Regions from separate parts of the Homo sapiens genome. Here all the other regions are linked to region 5. The links are contacts of gene promoters, found by promoter capture Hi-C in blood cells and fetal thymus (Javierre and others, 2016). All regions are on one chromosome and are shown on one strand. The core of a region is centred on a gene start or on the middle of the fragment in contact, and the rest is flanking DNA. Distances in the headings are between cores, read along the strand shown. Region 1 overlaps PCOLCE2 (procollagen C-endopeptidase enhancer 2). Region 2 overlaps PAQR9-AS1 (PAQR9 antisense RNA 1). Region 3 holds the start of PCOLCE2 (procollagen C-endopeptidase enhancer 2). Region 4 overlaps U2SURP (U2 snRNP associated SURP domain containing). Region 5 holds the start of ATR (ATR checkpoint kinase).

Region 1 (2,700 bases), core at 193-2,692, 270 kb after region 5:
AATGGCGTAGTTCCCAAAAGGGACATGTTTGGATTTGCCATCGTTGCATTCTAATTCCTAGAAGCTTGTCTCAGTGGTGTGAATATCAGAGTTCCAAAGAACTTAGAACAGCTTAAGAAGCTAATAACAGAAAGAACAATTTAAATTTTAAACATTATCACCAAGATGTCTGTTGTAAAACTTCCTGTCTTTTGCTTTGTTTTTTGTTTTGCACACAACCTCTATTTGTACAATAATCAGAAAGTTATCAAAATATGATGCCACATCTGTAATCTTAAATATAAGCAGGCTCTCTATGAATCACCGAAAAAGTCCTAGCCATGAAAAGAATCTCAAACTAATTTGTTTTTTTCCTGCATGAATAGTGACTATTTGTATAAATGTATAGAGGGTAATTCAAAGCTACGAAACTTGATGAAGTCACTCCCAGAGTGAATGTGGATAGAAAAAGGAAGAGGTCTAAGTATAGAGGCCTGGAACACTCCAATGTCATCAAGTCTGTGAAGAGGTCAAACCACAATAGAGACTGAGTCAACAAGTAGGAGGCAACCAAAGTGTGTGGCGTCTGGAAGCCAGGCGAAGAGAGTATGTCAAGGAGGAATGAATGGGCAACTGAGTTAAGTGCTGCTGCTGAGAAAGACCAGTGGATTTAGCAACACAGAAGTTTAGCAACCAGAAGTCACTGGTAATGCTGACAAAGCTGTTCTGGTGGCACCATGGGGAGAAAACTGGATAAAAGGATCATGAGAAAATGGGGTGAGAGGAAATGGTGACAATAAATATAAACAAGCTTTTCAAGGAGTTTTGCTGTGAAGATGAACAGAATAATATGGGGGTAAGGAAGGGGATATGGGGTCTAAGCAGAGTTTTTGCAATGGGTGTTTCCTAAGGCATGTTTGCATGCTGATGGGAAGGATTCTGTAGAGAGGGCAAAACTGATGAAGCAAGAGAGAGGGAGGATTGCTTAACAGATGTCCTTGAGCAGGCAAAGGGGGATCTGATCTACAGAAGGAACAGCTGGTGGAGTTGGCCTTAGTAGGAGCAGGGACAGTTTTGCCCAATGACAGAAGGGAAGACAGATGTAGGTAGGTCAGTAAATGAGGTGGTGAAAGCATATATAGAATTTTTTTTCTGGATTGCTTTTCTTAGTAAAATAGAAAACAAGGTCATCAGCAGCAAATGTGGAAGAGAGAGGCACTACTGGGAATCTGATAACAGAAGAGAAAGTGAGGAAATGGATTAATGAAATGCAGCAGGAGTACCAGGACTGCTGGGGTCCACTTGAAGTAAATGAATTAAAATTAAGACCTCTCTGCATGGTGGCGATATTTGTTTTTGTTTGTTCGTGGTCTTCTTCCCCAGCCACATTCAGCTCCGTGGGCAAAGGTACAGGGCAGGTGGAGAGTTGGATATAAGCAGTAGGGGAGAGTGGTGAGGTTTGCCAAGGGAGGATATGGCAGGAGAGAAGGACAAGAGAGTTGAAGACATAGGCAAGGGAGTGACCATGATGATGTGCTGTGGAATCCAAACTGGGTTAGGATGGAAATCAGGACGCTGTGGGGTGAGGACAGTAACAACCAAGACTGTGGTGGAGTAAGGACAAAATAACAGTGGAAGTGGGAGGCTGAGGAACTATGGAGGATAAGTTATTTGGCGGAGAAGAGGTTAAAGACCTGAGAAGATCACCCATATAGATATTGAAATTACAGTTGATTAGGACAAGGAAGAGTGTTGAAGACAGTGACAGTGAACCAGGAGTTAAAATTTGCAAGAAGCGAGGAAGACTGTCCAGGAGGCTTTTAGATTATTTCATCAAGGAGAGGAATAGGGAGGTATAATCATGTTTCATTGGCAGGTTCTTGGTTCTCTGACACTACGTAGACAATTCTGTTGACTCTCTCCTGTAGAGAGGTGTTGAAATTAACTACAGGACTTGGATGCTCATTCCCAATAAAATAAATCATTTGTTCCCAAAAGTTTTGTACCTGTTCCCATGGCAATGAAAATTTGAGAATGAGACACAAATATGATCAGCAATAGAAACTGGGTTACATCATTGCAATTTTGAACACATGCTGACCCGAACAACCCCGACAAAGCTTCTTTTGAAAGAAGGATGCAGAGGTGATCTGTACCAGTGTAAGTCTCCTATAACCAGAGACAAATGTCATCTTGCACTGAAGGCCAGAGAGAAATTCTATTGCAAATGAGAAGCATACTGCTGTGAGCCTTTTCAGTATGACACAACATCCGTTCTTCATTTTTTATATGAGTGATCAAGATTGTCTGATGCCCTCTGATGCAAGCTTTGATAAGAGCTCCTGATTGTCATTATAAAGGACTTTAGAGAGCATATTCTCCGAAGATGGCCTTTCCACTTGGAGAATCTAGTCTGTATCCTTGAATTTTCTTTGTTAAGAATAGAAAAAAAATAAAAAAATAAAAAATACAGAAAGATACACAGAATAATATAACACCTGGATACCAACCACGAAATTGACTTTTGTTAACATTTTGTTAATAGATTTTTAAAGTCTCCTTTAATGAAGTAAATAAAACATTTCAGATAAAAATGAGATTTCCTTTGTCTTCATCCCAGGCCCCATTTCCTCCTCCTTCCTCAGAAGCAACCACTGTTACAAATTTAGTGGGTTTCCTTCCATGCTGATCAAAATGTGTGTGTGTGTGTGTGTGTGTGTG
Region 2 (2,700 bases), core at 13-2,512, 400 kb after region 5:
GACATAACAGTTAACATTTATTGAGCAATTACACCATGCTAAGCCATTTAGATGTGATGTCCTTGTAAAACACTGTTGCAAGGGTTCTCTTTCAACCTTCTCTGCATCCTCCTCCTGGGTGTATCCTGGGCTTTGGCTTTTTCTGCTTTGTTTTATCTGTCTTCCAGAAATGTACTGTCCATTGGTTGCTTTCTCTTCTGTTCTCTTTGATGTTTTAAATTTATCCACCCCTACCACTTTTAAAGATATCAGAAATATCTACACAGTGATGGTGTCTGGAACAGCAGGGGGCAAATGTGTATGTTTGGTTCACTCTCTCGAGCCAGAAGGCTTTAATTTCATGTTGTTAAATAAGAAACAGGGAAAAAAACAGCCCTACATATGCATGCATTGATTTATGTAGATTTGTATGAGGGAAGAGGAAGATATCAGAGTTAAACATGAGAGTTAACATTTGATTTGACATGTAGGAAACCTATTGTCCTACAGTGGAAAGCCCTGATGATTTTGTAAATGACATTGTTTCACTTACAATTGTGGATAAAACCTGAATCAACAGGCACTCTGTCTTTTGTCATCATACTACTTTGTCAGTTTTGAATTATATACTCACAAAGAAGGCAGGGTCCCATAACTACTAAAAACAAGTTATCTTAATTAAGGCATTCAAGCCAGATGAAGTCTTTTAATATCCCAATAGCTCAGACTAAATCATATTGTTTTAGGACTTGTCGGCTAGGGCTGCCATAACAAAGTACCATAGACTGCGTGGCTTAAACAACTGGTATTTATTTTCTCACAGTTCTAGGGCGCAGAAGTCCCAGGTCAAGGTCTGGTAGGGTTGGTTTCCAAGGAGCCTTCTCTCCCTGGCTTGCAGACAGCTGCCTTTTCACATGGCAGAGAGAGGGAGCTCTGGGATCTCTTCCTCATCTTATAAGGGCACCAGCTCTACTGCATCAGAGCCCTACTCATATGACCTCATTTAACCTTTATCACTTCCTCTCAAGCTCTATTTTCAAATACAGCCACATGGGGATTAGAGCTTCATCATAGGAATTTTGTGGGGGACATCATTCAGTCCATAGCAACTATTCCTCAGATTTTTATTTTAAATTTAAAAAAGATCTATCGAAAAAAGCCTGTGAGAAAAGGAAAAAGAAGTTATGTTTACGTACACCTTGGTGGAATATACTGAGAGCATAAGGAGATTTTAAAACTCCCTTAGTCCTCTAAACATGTATATGTTTGTAAAATTATTTTTGTTGCTTTTCTGCTAGCCAGTGGAATAAGCTCATTAAAAGTCAGTGGAGCAGCATGTCCCATTATCAGCACACTAAACCACAGGATTAACGAATATTCTAGCAAAAGCAATCACATTTATTAATGTCCCCATGGAGCTGTGGTCTGAAACAAAAAACTTAACCATAATAATTTGGTATCCATTAATCAAATAAATTAATTCTTCCATCTACTGTTCCTAGTCTATTTCAAATTTCCTGATAATAAAAGGGGGGAAAACGGAAAAGAAATAACTTTATTTTTAAAAAGAATAACAGTGGGAAAAGAATAAACCCAAAGGAGTGTAAACAATTAATTTGCATTAGTTGGCAACTGATGATTCTGGCAAAACCACATGCAAAGAGCTAATGAACCCGTTGACTCCACTGATAACCACATTCTGTAGTTGGAGGAGGTAGTAGGAATTTAGAATCAAAATGATTGCCTGGAATGGCCGACAGGGGTACATGAAGACAGACGGTAAATAAAGGGGAAGGTTTTTTCCATTCATTCACCCAATATAATTATCTCCTTTTTACCAGTGCTAGGTGCTTTTCAAAAATGATCTCATTTAATCCTCTCGCTAACCCTTACAGATGAAGAAATCGGATGAGAGGGAGAGGAGAGGAGGGAGGGCTGGGTTGGGGGGAAGGGAGAAAAAGAGAGAGGGAGACACACACACACACACACACAGAGAGAGAGAGAGGGAGAGAGAGAGAGAGAGAGACTGTCCTGACCAAAGGAACACAGCTTGCAAGTCGGGGAGCAGAGTTAGAAATTCAGAGCAATCTGACTTCAAAGCCTCTATTCTCTTCCCTGTCACACTGTAGGTGGACTGTTGTTTATACCTGCAATTATTTGCTTAATCTCTGTATCCCTTCTTAGAGAGTAAGAGGGCAGAGGCTGTGTCTGTCTTGTTGATTCTTGTGTCCATCATTGCACTCTGCAGACTCCTCTCAGTGGTCTCTGTTGGGAGCAGGACACTTCCTGTTACATTTACTTCCCATTTGGTGCAACCTGCTAAGGATTTATTCATTTCACCTCAGCCAGGCCGCTGATGCCTGTTCTCAGATTGCCTGGTCTCCTGCCTTCGCCCCTTCACTTTAAACCATCTTCCGTGCAGCAGCCAGTGGTCTTCTAAAATGTAAATCAGATAATTTTGACCTTAGAATAAACTGCAAAACCTTACCATGGCCTCCATGCCCTATTCCAACCCCTGCCCCCACATCTGCCCTGAAGACTCTGACCTCCCCATCACTACTCTCTGGCTCCAGCCACAAAGGCTCCCTCACGCTTCTCTCTCTCAGCTCTGTTCCACCTGAGAGCCTTTCCACCAGCTGCTTCCTTTGCTCTCTTCATTTTCTTTATTCAAGAGAAATACATGCACAAGGAAGCACATATAAGCATATGTAGCATTGCTTG
Region 3 (2,700 bases), core at 26-2,525, 310 kb after region 5:
AATTTGAAACATGGTCTAACAATCTGATGTTACCTTCAGAAAGGTGTAGCCTATTAATATAAATAAAAGTTAATGTTGATTAATCAATGCTTGCACCATATAAGGGATCTGAAAATTTGCTAGCTCCTAGAATATTTAAATTATAGCCTGACAAAGCATTCAGTCCAGCGCCATCTGTCTCCATCATAATAACACAAGATTATATATATGTATAATCAAGTCCTCGGCATTGTGGCAAAGTCTTGTAGGAAAATGGTAAATACATCAATTTAACTGGGGGAGTGGGAGAGAAGGTAAGAGCCAGGCTGAATGAGAAGCATGGTTTTAAAGAAAGACAGGCAAGCAATTGGTTAATATAAAAAAAGTTTGTCGTTCCCATATTTGGAGAGATGCCCAGTTCTCCTCCCCCTTTCTGAAAATCACTCGCCATTGGCAGAGCTTCCCATCGAAAGGGAGGCTGATGTTGATGGAGGCTGAAGAGGTGATGCCAAAGTTGGCCACCGGGCAGGTCCCACAGCCCAGCTCCTGGGGCCTTCCAGAGGTTGGCGAAGAGTTAACTTTCCGGAGCGGCTCCCTAGGCGCCGCGCCGCTAGGGTTGTTCCCTAGTTTACGTCTCTGGGCAAAGCCTCTCGGGGAAGGAAAAAAAACAGCGGTAAACCAAAATCCACATATTTGGGCCCCAGTGCTTCCCTCTGGCCCCATAGACACGAGGAGAGGGGAGACACAAGTCAGATTAAGCCCCGCCACGTGGTGGCCAAGCCAGCTGCAGGGCCATCCGGCAGGCCGGGCTGGGGACCCAGGAGGGAGCCCCGCGAGCAAGGATGGGTCCCGAAGTCCCGGGCTTAGCCTACCCGAGGGTGGCGGACGCCTGCACCGCGCGGGAGCGCAGGGTCGAGCGCTGGGTCACCCAGGCGCGCCGAAGCGGGTTGAGTAAAGCAGCAGGCGAGGCTGCAGGGGTGGAGGAAGGGAAAGGAGAGAAAGGGAGCCCGGGCAGGGGTCGCGTTACCTCTCTGGGGACTGCTGCCGCGAGAGCTGGGTGGCGGCAGCCAGCAGCAGGCAGAGTGGCGCCCAGGCGTTCGCGCCCCTCATGGCAGCGTAGACGCTCGGGGTTTGCACCCCACGGCGCGCGCGCCGGCACACACGCCCCTCCGCACCCACCGCGCTCACACCGCCGCTCACACTGGCAGCAGCGCTGGCTCACACCGGCGCTCGGCTGCCCGCGCGCTCCCTCTCACGCGCGCACCGCCGCGGGGCGGCCCAGGTAGCCGGGGGATACGCGGCCGGCAGGGCGGAGGCACTTTTAAAGGCGATTATGGTGCCGTCTGACTCGACGCTTAGTTTCCCCTGAGGAGCTGCTCTGGCAGCCACAGGCCACTGCTGAATATCCCGTTTGTTCTCCGGCGGCAGGAGGGGCGGCTCCGAGGCCAGAGCCGCCCCCTCTCGTGGGGCGGGCGAACGTCTCCTCCCGGCACCCCGGGACCGACGGGTCCTCTCTCGTCCAGCCCTCAGGGACCCCGGGGAGAAGAGGAACCCCTTGCGGAGTGGCACCCCAGCGGCCCGGGCCCCGACGCCCAGAGACGATTCTCAGGGAGGGCTTCTGGTTTTGCTTTGGGGAATGTTTTTCCCAGTTGCTTTTAAATAAAAAGTAATAGCGCTTGCTGGCTGCTGGAAAGCCTGGGGGTCCTTCTTTGTCTCCTTCAAAACCCAGATCCAAGGAAAGAAAGGGAAAAGGGATTTTATTGTATTTTAACTTCTGTGCTTATTCTCCTCTCTCTCTCTCTAGATACTTTTCTTTTTTTTACTGGTATGACAATGACAAGGAAGACAGTCTCTGTGCCGGGATTTAAACACGGGTTTTCAGGCGAGCGATTTCTGTGTGAACTGTCATTAAATGTCAGATAATGAAGACGGAACCAAATCAGCAAATCTCACCATCCCATGTCATGTTCTGAAAATGGTGTTTCTCTGCTTGCATCTCTCTGTTCTTAGACCTTTCCAACAGCATCTTTCTGTGGTATTAACGGGTTAAAATTTACGGAGAATTCGTTTTTCTTAGACGAACAATTCTAGCCTTGTGGAATCAATACTCTCTTTTACTTAATTACAGAAATATAATTTTAAACATTTATTTTGTTAAGAGCTTCCCAATAACCAGGGATTAATAAAAGAATGACAGGAACAGACTAGATTCATAGAGATTTTTAATAATCACCAGCTATGGGAGATACAGCTTAACTTTGATGCCTCACGTTGTTCCTTCTAAATTGTTTTCACCTTTCTAAGCAAGAAAATTAAGTATTAAAGTAGTTCTTATCGAGACTTTATTTCTAATAATGAGCTGTTAAGAATCTAAACACGGGTGGGCGCGATGGCCCACGCCTGTAATCCCAGCACTTTTGGAGGCCGAGGCGGGCGGATCACGAGGTCAGGAGTTCGAAACCAGTCTGGCCAAGATGGTGAAACCCCGCCTCGACTAAAAATACAAAAAATTAGCCAGGTGTTGCGGTGTGCGTCTGTAATCCCGGGTACTCGGGAAGCTGAGGCAGAAGTATCGCGTGAACCCGGGAGGCGGAGGTTGCAGTGAGCCGAGATCACGCCATTGCACTCCAGCCCCGGGCGACAGAGTGAGACTCCATCTCAAAAAAGAAAAAAAAAAAAAAAAGAACCTAAACACTCCTGGCAAGGAAGTAAGTAAAACTG
Region 4 (2,802 bases), core at 55-2,554, 450 kb after region 5:
TATTATATATTCAGAAAAGTAACTGTAATGGTTGCTTTAATTAATGGTCTTATTAAGATGTTAACCCTAAAATAAATTTTTTTCACTTGTGAATGTTTAAAATAGTAACATCTTTCATCATGTGCTTTATAATTTTAAACATCCTAACAAGTATAGGTGTGTGTCCTGTTGTCCTTGAGTTTTCTCCTGGTAAAATTAGTGATGATCTCTTAAACATGATTGACTTATTTCTTTAGCATTGGAGTACTTCAGATTCTTACAGAAATTATTGGAGGATCCCTAGAATTCTTGCTTCTCTGAATGCAACATAAAGAAGAAAAACTATTGTGTGGCTAGTGGGATCAGATTGTGGCTATGCAAAGCCGCTACATGATAACTTTCACACTTGATTTGCAGTGTGTGGTGAGCTGTGAGATGGCCACCATGGAAGTATGTGTTGTTATTAGTCTCACTTAACAATTGTACAGTGCAGCTAGCTGGTTTAAGAAGCAAAAACATACTTATTAAATGTTCAGAGGACATCCTGTATACCTCATGGGAAAACATTGGCTAAAAGCATTTTTAGAATATAGAATTAAGTACAGACATACTTAGTTTTATTGCGCTTTGACTTACTGTGCTCTGCAGATACAGTGTGTTTTATAAATTGAAGGTTTGTGGCAACCCTAAGTCAAACAAATCTGTTGTCATTATTTTTCGAACAGCATGTGCTTACTTCATGTCTGTCACATTTTCATAATTCTCACAATAGCTCAAACTTTTTCATTATTATTGTATCTGTTATGGTGATCAGTGATCTTTGATTGTTTTGGGGCACCACAAACTATGGTCATATAAGAAGATGAACTTAATCAAAAAAGGTGTGTTCTGACTGTTCAGTGACTAGCTGTTTTCCCTTAGGCCTCCCTATTTCCTGAGACACAACACTATTGAAATTAGGCCAGTTAATAATCCCACAATGGCCTCTTGAGTATTCAGGTGAAAGGAAGAGTCTCACTTCTCTCACGTTAAATCAAAAGCTAGAATGATTAAGCTTAGTTAGGAAGGCATGTCAAAAGATGAGGTTGGCTGAAAGCTAGGCCTCTTGCACCAAACAGTGAGCCAAGTTATCAATGCAAAGGAAGAGTTTTTAAAGGAAATTAAAAGTGCCACTCCAATGAACACATGAATGATGAGGAAGCAAAATAGCCTTATTACTGATAGAAAGTTTCGGTGGTGTGGATAGAAGATCAGACCAGCCATAGCACTCCCTTATGCCAAAGCCTAATCCTGAGCAAGGCCCACTCTCTTCAATTCTGTGGAAACAGGTGAGGATGCTCCAGAAGAAAAATTTGAAGCTAGCAGTGATTGGTTTTTGAGGTTTAAGGAAAGAAGCCATCTTCATAATATAAAAGTTCAAGGTGAAGCAGCAAGTGCTGATGTAGATGCTGTAGCAAATTATCCAGAAGATCTGAGGTCATTGATGAAGGTGGCTACACTAAATCACATTGTCAGTGTAGACAAAGCAGCCTTTTATTGTAAGAAAATGTAATTTAGCACTTTTATAACTAGAGAGGGGAAGTCACTGCCTGGGTTAAAAGCTTCAAAGGACAGGCTGACTCTCTTATTAGGGGCTAATGCAGCTGGTGACTTAAAGTTGAAGCCAGTGCTCATTTACCATTCCAAAAATTTTAGGACCATTAAGAATTTATGCTAAATCAACTCTGCCTGTGCTCTATAAATGGAACAACAAAGCCTGGATGACAGCATATCTGTTTACAGCATGGTTTACTGAATATTTTAAGCCCACTGTTGAGACCTGCTCAATAAAATGATTTTTTTCAAAATATTACTGCTCATTGACAATGTACCTGATCACTGAAGATCTCTGATGGAGATGTGCAAAGAGATTAAGTTGTTTTCATGCCTGTTAACACATTATCCATTCTCTATCCCATTGATCAAGGAGTAATTTTGACCTTTTAGTCTTATTATTTAAGAAATATATTTCATAAGGCTGTGGCTGCCATAGATAGTGATTCCTCCAGTGGGTCTGGGAAAAAGTCAGAAACCTTGTGGAAAGCATTTATCATTCCAAATGCCATTAAGAACATTTGTGGGCCAGGTGTGGTGGCTCACACCTGTAATCCCAGCACTATGGGAGGCCGAGGCAGGAGGATAGCATGAGGCCAAGAGTTCAAGACCAGCCTGAGCAATATAGTGAGACCCCATTTCTATTAAAAAGAAATTTAAAAAAATCTTAAAAATCCGTTTCAGTTTTTTTGCCTATAAAAATCGACATTAACAGGAGCTTGGAAGAAGTTAGTCCCTCATAGATGACTTTGAGGGATTTAAGACTTCAGTAGAGGAAGTAACTCCAGATATGGTAGAAATAGCAAGGGAACTAGAATTAGAAGTAGAGCTCAAAGATGGGACTGAATTGCTGTGATCTCATGATAAAACTTTAATAAATGAGGAGTTGCTTCTTAGGGATGAGCAAATTAAGTGGTTTCTTGAGATGGAATGTATTTCTGATGAAGAAGCTGTGAACATTGTTGAAATGAAAGGATCTAGAATATATATAAAGTTAGTTGATAAAGTAGTACAGGGTTTGAGAGGATTGACTACAGTTTGGCAAGACATTCTCCTCTGGGTAAAATGTTAACAAACAACAACTCATGCTGCAGAGAAATCCCCTGTGATGAGAAATGTCAGTTGATGCGGTAAACTTTATTGTTTAAGAAATTGCTGCAGCCACCCCAACCTTCAGCTACCACCGCCCTAACCTTCAGCTACCACCACCCTAACCTTCAGCTACCACCA
Region 5 (2,744 bases), core at 108-2,607:
CACAATGAGCCTGAAAGATGAAATTTGTAAACCAACTTCCTACAATGATCACTTTTCTTCCTCTTCTTTTAGAGAGGTAGAGGTTATTTTATAAACTAAACACAAAGTATACTTGCCACAGATAAGTGGAAAAAATTCACACACTCAAAAATAGTGATGCAGTTACGACAAGAATGGTCCCTTCATTTATCCTTTTATTCATATATTGAGACTAGATTATTTGGATGGCCAACCAGTGGAAATGAACACAACTGCGCTGCAAAAAGAAAGAGAAGTAGCTATCCCATTGGCTTAATGTCAGCTTTGACTTTGTGTGGAAAGTTTTCAAACAGTTTAAGAAATTGGGAAGCAGTTATTCCAAATGATAATTTAACTGCGGTAGCAGCACAAGCTTATTTATTTCTTGTTCGCAGTAGTGTAGAATTAAAACAAACAAAGCAAAACAAGCTCTACCGAGTCTTTAGGCCTGGTTCAGGGAAGCCTGCCTGTGTATTGAAGAGGTGTGAGAGCCATCAACACCTCTCCCTCCTTGTGGTAAGATACTGGTTTTCATGAGGTTTACAGACAACATGCATTTGCAAATGAAATATTAAATTGTCTCCAAATTTTGGCAACACTCTGTGCACGCTGAGATTTTGTGGACCCAGGGGTCTATCTCTCCAATTTCTGACTAAAATAACGGATCGGGAACTGGACGATCAATACGAGGGAGGTCACATCTTCAGTATGTACTATGACTTCACTTCAAAGAAAAAAACTGCCTTTTCCAGCAAGTGATGTCACTTGCAGAAAATGAGAAGCGGTGATTTTCTTTCAAGGGCAGTTTGGGGACAAAATGTAAGGCTAAAAACCAATTCCTCCACGAGTGATCACAAAGAACAGAAACTGATGGGTCAAGTCCCTCGTCTAAGGAAAAAGATTTTCGAGAAGAAAATGAGTGTAGAAAAGTGACCAGAAAGCGATCAGCAGGGACTCTTCCTCCAGCTGCAGGAAGCAAACTCTCGATCGGGGTGAGTGGTAAACCAGGGCCGGCAGACGCCTCTCTCCCCCACGGACCGGCTTCCCGCAGGTTTGTGGCGACTGCCCCATGTGCTATCAACGGGCACTCTGAGGGAGAAGCGCCCAAATCAGCCACGGAGCATCTCCACAAGGGCCGCAGCGGGGGCTTAGGGGATCCCAGCCATAGCGCAGCAGGGGAGGGGAGAGCACGTGAAACCCAAGCCGGAATCAGCGGAGGAGGATGCAGGACCCAGGCTGGGCCTAGCCCTACCTGCCCAGCTCCCGCAGGGCGGGGATCATGGAAGCCAGCTCCAGGCCATGTTCCCCCATGCTGAGGCTGCGAGGCACTAGTCAACCACGCCAACGCGGGTTCCCGGCGTCTCCAAAGCTACCGCTGCCGGAAGAGCGCGGCGCCCGACGGAGCCGTGTGGAGGCCAAAACTCCTCCCGGAAGCCGCTACTGGCCCCGCTTGCCAGGCCCAGCGTCTTTTCTGCATAGGACCCGGGGGAAGCCGGGAAGCCGTTAGGGGGCGGGGCAAGCGGGCGGGCGTGCGTCGGTCAAGTTTCCCGGGTCGCGTCAGGCTTCTTTCTCAGCACCGAGCGAGCGACGTTCGTGAAGCTTTCGTTTTGAGCGGCCAGACTCTGCTGTTCTCAAGCCTGGGAGGCACAGAGAAGCAAGACTTCCGCATCGGGGGAGGATAGGGCTTGAGGGCCGCCAGCCCAGACTCGCTTCACAAATGTGAGAACTATGACAGTCCAGCGAGTAAAGGCCAAGAGTAAACTCCAGGTTTCCCCAGAGTAACGCTCTCACATTTTAAAAGTTCCTCACGTTCCCACCGCTCTTGTCCCTCTTTCTGAGAGATACAGGCCAAAAGGTGGGCTCTCCCTGTTTTTTTCCTTTTAAGCATTTTTTTTCAACTTGAAGTCACTGTTAGGTTTCGTTGAGGACCCTACCAACTTTTAATATTTGAAAATGGGGTTGGAATATATTTGTGTCTCATCAAATCAGCAACAGTACTGTGTGTGGAAATGCCACCATTACGGGCATCCGCAACCTGTGATTTAATTTTTAAAGTAAATCAATGGATTTTGGCAATACACATTTTCTAGCTCAACTCAATTTATTGGAAAGATGACCACCATAAGAGATTGTTGACATGTCAAAGTTATGTAGTTAATCACTCAAAGTCATGCAGTATGTTTACATTTGTTCTTTGGTACATGAGGATAGTTAACCGATACAGTATCTTAAAGAAAAAAGTGATGGAATGACAGCCAAATATGCTCTTGCCTCAAGAACTTTGCATTTGCTGTACTCTCTGCCTTGAACACCACTCTGTCATTGCCCTTTTTCCTTCAGGTGTTTGCCAAATTAACACCAAAGAGCCTCATATAGACTAACATATATACACATTCTGTCTCACCCTCTTTTTTTTGTTAGATACATTGTCTTACTCTGTTGTTCAGGTTCTAGTGCAATGAATGTTGCAATCATAGCTCACTGCAGCCTCAATCTCCCAGGCTCAAGCGATCCTCTCACCTCAGCCTGGGCTCAATTGATCCTCCTGCCTCAGCCTCCTGAGTAGCTGGGACTACAGACATGCCACCACGCCTGGCTAATTATTTTTTGTAGAGACAAGGTCTTGCTATGTTGCCCAGGCTGGTCTCAAACTCTTGGCCTCACACGCTCCTCCCACCTCAGCCTTCCAAAGTACTAGAATTAGAGGTGAGAGCCACCACACCCGG

The links. Contacts are between HindIII fragments. The CHiCAGO score rates a contact against its expected background, and 5 or more counts as called.
Region 1: a fragment that was not itself captured here is called in contact with the fragment with the promoter of ATR in region 5 in 1 of 17 cell types (M2 macrophages); the score reaches 6.1 in M2 macrophages.
Region 2: a contact is called between a fragment that was not itself captured here and the fragment with the promoter of ATR in region 5, in 7 of 17 cell types (naive CD4 T cells, endothelial precursors, total CD8 T cells and 4 more). The highest score is 6.8, in naive CD4 T cells.
Region 3: a contact is called between the fragment with the promoter of PCOLCE2 here and the fragment with the promoter of ATR in region 5, in 1 of 17 cell types (M2 macrophages). The highest score is 5.3, in M2 macrophages.
Region 4: a contact is called between a fragment that was not itself captured here and the fragment with the promoter of ATR in region 5, in 2 of 17 cell types (naive CD8 T cells and erythroblasts). The highest score is 6.1, in naive CD8 T cells.

Annotation. Positions count from the first base shown.
Region 1 is chr3:142,849,974-142,852,673 of GRCh38, forward strand. The region is part of intron 2 of PCOLCE2 (procollagen C-endopeptidase enhancer 2); the gene reads right to left. Among named protein-coding and RNA genes, the nearest start is that of PCOLCE2, 38 kb to the right of the region's middle. The HindIII fragment of the contact is 1,309 bases long and covers 789-2,097 here.
Region 2 is chr3:142,980,381-142,983,080 of GRCh38, forward strand. The region is part of intron 2 of PAQR9-AS1 (PAQR9 antisense RNA 1); the gene reads left to right. Among named protein-coding and RNA genes, the nearest start is that of PAQR9-AS1, 18 kb to the left of the region's middle. The HindIII fragment of the contact is 4,375 bases long and covers 1-2,700 here.
Region 3 is chr3:142,887,808-142,890,507 of GRCh38, forward strand. It overlaps PCOLCE2 (procollagen C-endopeptidase enhancer 2), which reads right to left and starts at 1,276. Exons shown (of 9, transcript NM_013363.4): 1 at 1,007-1,276. The coding sequence starts at 1,089. It overlaps LOC124909443 (a long non-coding RNA gene), which reads left to right and starts at 457. Exons shown (of 2, transcript XR_007096122.1): 1 at 457-652; 2 at 1,784-2,700. RefSeq lists a silencer at 1,219-1,268. The HindIII fragment of the contact is 10,419 bases long and covers 1-2,700 here.
Region 4 is chr3:143,028,666-143,031,467 of GRCh38, forward strand. All of the region lies in intron 16 of U2SURP (U2 snRNP associated SURP domain containing), which reads left to right. Among named protein-coding and RNA genes, the nearest start is that of U2SURP, 28 kb to the left of the region's middle. The HindIII fragment of the contact is 547 bases long and covers 1,032-1,578 here.
Region 5 is chr3:142,577,376-142,580,119 of GRCh38, forward strand. It overlaps ATR (ATR checkpoint kinase), which reads right to left and starts at 1,358. Exons shown (of 47, transcript NM_001184.4): 1 at 1,271-1,358. The coding sequence starts at 1,329. RefSeq lists enhancers at 1,149-1,308, 1,609-1,708. The HindIII fragment of the contact is 1,226 bases long and covers 390-1,615 here.